2 separate regions of the Homo sapiens genome follow, and region 1 is linked to region 2. The links are contacts of gene promoters, found by promoter capture Hi-C in blood cells and fetal thymus (Javierre and others, 2016). All regions are on one chromosome and are shown on one strand. Each heading gives the region's core, a stretch centred on a gene start or on the middle of the fragment in contact. The rest is flanking DNA. Distances are from core to core; before and after follow the strand shown.

The links. Contacts are between HindIII fragments. The CHiCAGO score rates a contact against its expected background, and 5 or more counts as called.
Region 1: a fragment that was not itself captured here is called in contact with the fragment with the promoter of DLG3 in region 2 in 1 of 17 cell types (naive B cells); the score reaches 5.2 in naive B cells.

What each region holds. Positions count from the first base shown.
Region 1 is chrX:69,168,112-69,170,976 of GRCh38, forward strand. No RefSeq gene overlaps it. Among named protein-coding and RNA genes, the nearest start is that of PJA1, 4.1 kb to the left of the region's middle. The HindIII fragment of the contact is 172 bases long and covers 1,522-1,693 here.
Region 2 is chrX:70,443,257-70,446,181 of GRCh38, forward strand. It overlaps DLG3 (discs large MAGUK scaffold protein 3), which reads left to right and starts at 1,579. Exons shown (of 19, transcript NM_021120.4): 1 at 1,579-2,302. The coding sequence starts at 1,946. RefSeq lists an enhancer at 1,097-1,883. The HindIII fragment of the contact is 21,076 bases long and covers 1-2,925 here.

The DNA of each region.
Region 1 (2,865 bases), core at 358-2,857, 1.3 Mb before region 2:
AAATTTTATTTTCTCCAGATCCTCAGATCCTTCTGTTTTTGAAACAAAATAGTACAGATGAAGCCCTCACTTCATCCTATTCACTTGACCTCTCTCTTGAAAATAAGCCTTATTTGGAAGTTGATGTGCTGTCGTCTTGTTCATGTTTGTGTGTGTGTGTATGTGTATATATATATATATATATATATATATGTGTGTGTATATATATGTATGTATATATGTGTATATATGTATATGTGCATATAAGTGTATGTATACATATATATACAGATATATAATATATATTTACATATATATATCTGTGACCAATACACAATTTTGTTTCATGTATTTAAATTATACAGATGGTATCATTATAAATATATACTTTTGCAACTTAGATTTTCACTCTGTTGTTTTTTGAAACTCAGCAATTTTGATACCTGTAGATCTGAGTCATGCATTTTAACTGCTGAATATTACTGTATCAATTATCCAATACATTACTATAACATATTATTGTATGGACTTCTTTTGCATAAGTTATCCAATTTATCTCTTTTCCTACTGTTTCTGTTTTGTGCAATTATAAGTGAGGATTCAATGAACATCCTAGTGCATGGCTCCTTGTGCCTACATAGAAGAGTTTCTTCAGGGCAGAGCTTCCCAACTGAGTTATAAGTGTTCTGATATATTGATCCCCTTAGCTCTCCAGGAAGGTAGCTTTGGCTTCAGCAGCTGCCCCTAGAGACTGTTGCCTCTGGCCAAGAGCACACTGTCTGTTTATTCCAGTGAGCTGATAGCATTTTAAATATATGTTCTGATGTGAAAAGGATTGAAATAAATTGCTCTAGTATGGAAACATTGAAGTAGAATTTCTTGGTCAAAGAGTATGTAGTAGGTATCTATTGCTGTGTAACAAATTTCCCTAAAACATAGCAGCTAAAAACAACAAACATTTATCATATCAGTTTCTATGGGTCTGGAATCCAGGCATGGCTTAGTTAGGTGCCTCTGACTCAAACTTTCTTACGAGGTTGCACCCAAGCTCTCATCTAGGGTTGCAGTCTCATTTGAAGGCTCAAGTAGGGTAAGAGGTCCACTTCCAAGCTCTTTTACATGGTTGTTGACAGGCCAAAGAAGACCCATTTCTAAGCTAACTCATGTGGCTGTTGTCAGACTTTGATTCCTTGTCGTGTGGACCTATCCGTAGGCTTCCTAAGTCTCCTCACAGCATGGTAGCTGGAGAGAGAGAAAGAGAGAGAGAGAGAGAGAGAGAGATCCCAAGAGGAAAGATGCAGTCTTTTTATAACTTAATCTCAGAAGTGAGATCTCATCACTTTTGCCATATCCTATTCATTAAAAACAAGCCATGGAATTTGTTCATTTTATCTAAGTAATCAAATTTGTGGCCATAGAGTTGTTCATAATACTTTTTATTATCCTTTTAATGTCCATGAGGTCAGTAGCAATGGCTCCTCTCTAATTTCTGATATGAGTAATTTTGTTTACTCTCTTTTTTTCTGGGTCAGTCTGGCTACAAGCTTCTCAATCTTGTTGACCTTTTCAAAGAACCAGCTTTTGATTGTATTGCTTTTTCTCTACTATTGTTCTGTTTTCAATTTCATTGATTCCTGTTTTAATTTTTATTGCATTTTTTTCTGCTTACTTTGGGCTGAATTTGCTGTTTTATTTTCTAGTTTCCTAAGATGGAAGCTTAGATGATTTATTTAAGGTATTTCTTATTTTCTAATGTATGCATTCAATGCTACAAATTTCCCTCTAAGCACCACTTTTGCTGCATCCCACAAATTTTGGTAATTTATCTCAAAATATTTTAAAATTTATCTTGACACTTCTTCTCTAACCCATGTTTTCTTTAGAAGTATATTGTTTAATCCCCAAATATTATGTGATTTTCCAGCTACCATTCTTCTATTGATTCCTAATTCAATTTCATTGTGGTCTGAAAGCATACTTTGTATAATGTCTATTCTTTTAAATTTGTTGAGGCATGTTTCATGGCCCAGGATGTAGTCAATCTTGGTGAATGTTCAATGTGAGCTTGAAAAGAATGTGTATTCTGCTTTTGTTGGATGAAGTTGTCTATAAATGTCAATTAGATCCAGTTGATTGATGGTGCTATTCAGTTCAACTATATCTTTACTGATTTTCTGCCTGCTGGATCTGTCAATTACTGATTGAGTGGTGTTGAAGTCTCCAACTATAATTGTGGATTCATCTATTTTTTCTTGAAGTCCTATCAGTTTTTGACTCATGTATTTTGATGCTCTGTTGTTAGGCACACACACATTAAAGATTGTTGTGTCTTCTTGGAGAACTGACTCCTCTTTCATTACATAACACCCCTATTTATCCCTAATAATTTTCTTTGTTCTGAAATCTGCTGTGTCTGCAATTAACATAGCTACTCTGGCTTTCTTTTGATTACTGTTAGTATGGTATATATTTCTGAATCCCTTTACTTTTAGTTTGTCTTTAGAAAGTTGGTTTCATGTAGATAACATATAGTTAAATCTTGTTTTTAAAATCCATTCTGACAGTCTCTTTTAATTGGTGCATTTAGATCATTCACATTTAAAGTGATTATTGATATAGTTGGATTAATATTTACCATACTTGTAACTATTCCCTATTTGATGCCCTTGCTGTTTTTTTTTTTTTTTTTTTTTTGAGATGGAATCTTGCTCTGTCACCCAGGCTGGAGTGCAGTGGTGCGATCTCAGCTCACTGCAAACTCCACCTCCCAGGTTCAAGTGGTTCTCCAGCCTCCTGAGTAGCTGGGATTACAGGCGCCCACCACACCTGGGTAATTTTTGTATTTTTTTAGTAGAGACAGGGTTTCACCATGTTGCCCAGGCTGGT
Region 2 (2,925 bases), core at 329-2,828:
GCACACAGCAAGTGTTCCACGCATATTTGTTGAATTAAGAATGAATCTCTGAGGGCCGGGCACAGTGGATCACACCTGCAATCCCAGCACTTTGGGAGGCCAAGGTGGGTGGATCACTTGACGTCGGGAGTTCGAGACCAGCCTGGCCAACGTGATGAAACCCCATCTCTACTAAGAAAATACAAAAATTAGCCGGGCGTGGTGGCAGGAGCCTGTAGTCCTAGCTACTAGGGAGACTGAGAGGCAGGAGAATCGTTTGAACCTGGGAAGCTGAGGTTGCAGTGAGCTGAGATCACGCCACTGCACTCCAGCCTGGGTGACAGAATGAGAATCCATCTCAAAAAAAAAAAAAAAAAAAAAAAAGAACCTCTGTATCCCTAATACCTAGGTCAAGGTCTTGCACAGAGCAGGTGCTCAATGAATATTTGCTGAATTGAACTGAGATGTAAATTCTGCAGGAGAACTTAGAATAGACCTGTCGTACTAGAGTGGTTCACAGCGTGGACTCTGGAGTCAAATAATCAGGATTTGCATCCTGATTCTGTCACTTCCAGCTGTGTTACCTAGCTGTGTTAACATCTTTGAGCCTCAATTTCTCATTGGTAAAATGAAGATAATAATAGCATCAGCTTGGTAGGATTTGGGTTTGCGTGTTATGCACTTAGGACTTTGTAAAGACCCAATAATTGGTAGCTAAAAACAAAACAAGAACTGCAAAAAAGATAGTCTTTCTTGTATGTCATCCTTCCTCCATTCCCCCGACAAGCTGAGCCAGGAGAGGGTAAGGAGATGTCCTTGGACAAGTATTCCTAAGCTCTATTCCAGACCCATAGAAGGGTTTCTCTCTCTTCAAATCCCTTCTTACCTTTTCACCTGTCCTGGACTTTCATCTTGATATCCTGAAGTTCCTTCCCCCATCATAACCATGCAGGGGTGGAGTGGAGGAGATAGGGGTTTGTGGGCCAGGGACAAGGACTTAGAGCTTTCTGTTAATCCCTGTTCTAGGGTTGAGTTCTTTACTGGTGATGGTAGAAGGTCAAGTGTGAGGTCACAGTAATTTCAGGGCCTAGAGACTGAGAGAACAATAGTCTTGTGTAGGAGGCATTGACAGGACAGCGGGCCTCATATGCTGCCTTCTTCTTTGGTCCCCTGTAAGAGAAAGCACCTCCCTCACCCTGCTCCAACGTCCTTTCTGTCCATCCTGCTACCTCGTCTTTACTTCTGGTGGCCCCAGCTCAGAGCAAGCCTGGGGACCCATTGAACATCTCCCTGCAACTCCCTCTTGGAAGTGGGGTGGGGTGGAGTGGGCAGAGGACAGGCTAAAACTGGCGATATAAGGGCACAAGATCGGGTGCCTGAGCTTTCTGGTGGCCCACGTCCTCTGCCCCCGCCCTTAGAGCCAACAGTTCCCTAGAGATTGGGGGAGCTGGGGCTGAGCCTGGGGGCGCCGCTGCCTCTGTTCCTTTAAGTAGCCGCTGTTTAGCATTCCTGCCGCCGCCGCTGCCGCTGCCGCTGCCTGCCTCTGCGCGCTGATTGGCTGGAATCAACTGAGAAGGGAGCCAGGGAGAGATGCTCTTGACTCCACTCAGATCCATCCTGGGGACCAGAGCAGAAGCGGTCCTCACAGCACCCATTCTCTGCTTGAGCTCCCGCTTCTTCTTTGCCGCTGGGCCTCGGCCCAGAAGCCACGACGGGCGACACGGAGCCGCCAGTGCTGGAGGGGGAGCCGTGGGTGCGGGGCAGCGTGGGGGCCGAGGCCCCGGGACGCCCGCCCGGCCCCAGGCCCCGCTCAGCCCGGGCGCCCCCACGGGTGCCCCCCCCTTCTTGGTCCGAGCAGTGTGAGTGTGCCAGGGAGCCCGGCGGCGGCGGCGGCGGTGGTGGCGGCGGTGGCGGCGGCGTGGAATCCGGCGTGGGCTGGGGGGTCCGAGCCGCGGGGGGCAGTGCCATGCACAAGCACCAGCACTGCTGTAAGTGCCCTGAGTGCTATGAGGTGACCCGCCTGGCCGCCCTGCGGCGCCTCGAGCCTCCGGGCTACGGCGACTGGCAAGTCCCCGACCCTTACGGGCCAGGTGGGGGCAACGGCGCCAGCGCGGGTTATGGGGGCTACAGCTCGCAGACCTTGCCCTCGCAGGCGGGGGCCACCCCCACCCCTCGCACCAAGGCCAAGCTCATCCCCACCGGCCGGGATGTGGGGCCGGTGCCTCCTAAGCCAGTCCCGGGCAAGAGCACCCCCAAACTCAACGGCAGCGGCCCCAGCTGGTGGCCAGAGTGCACCTGTACCAACCGGGACTGGTATGAGCAGGTATGGACCAGCGGAGGGGGGAGCGGTGGGGCAACCCAGGAGGGCTGGAGAGTGGGGGCCTAGAGGCCTGGGATGCAGTAGGGGTCGCTGGGGCTCCAAGCCTGTGGACCCCGAGCCCTAGCATTGCAGCTGGGCAAAGAGAGGCGGTGGGAAATGTGTGGTTCCCTGTGTGTGTCTGTTTGGGGGTCTCCATTAGAAGACTGGGAGGAGCCGTGTGTCAGGGGGTAAGGGCATGGCGGAGGGGCACATTTTCCTGTGTGGGGGAATTGGGTTTGTCTCAGTGTGGGGGTTTGGCAATGTCTCTGTGTCTGGCAGGGGGCGGGAGGTTCTGCGGGGGCTGTGTGTGGTGTGTGTCTCCACCGGAGGGGAGGGGAGGGGGCATGGTGCTCTGCGTAGGGGGGACATATGTGTGTGTATGTATGTTGGGGTGTGTGGAGGAAGGCAATGGAGCTGCCGTGAATCCGTGTGGAGGAGCCCATGTGCCCGGCTCGCTGAGCTTCATCCCTTGATGCCATGAGTCCCTCTCCGTCCCAGTCCCTTTGTGTGTGAATGTGCACATGGATGTGTGGAGATGTCACTCTGAATGTGGAGAGGTCTCTGTAGAGGAGGCTGCAGGGATGGCT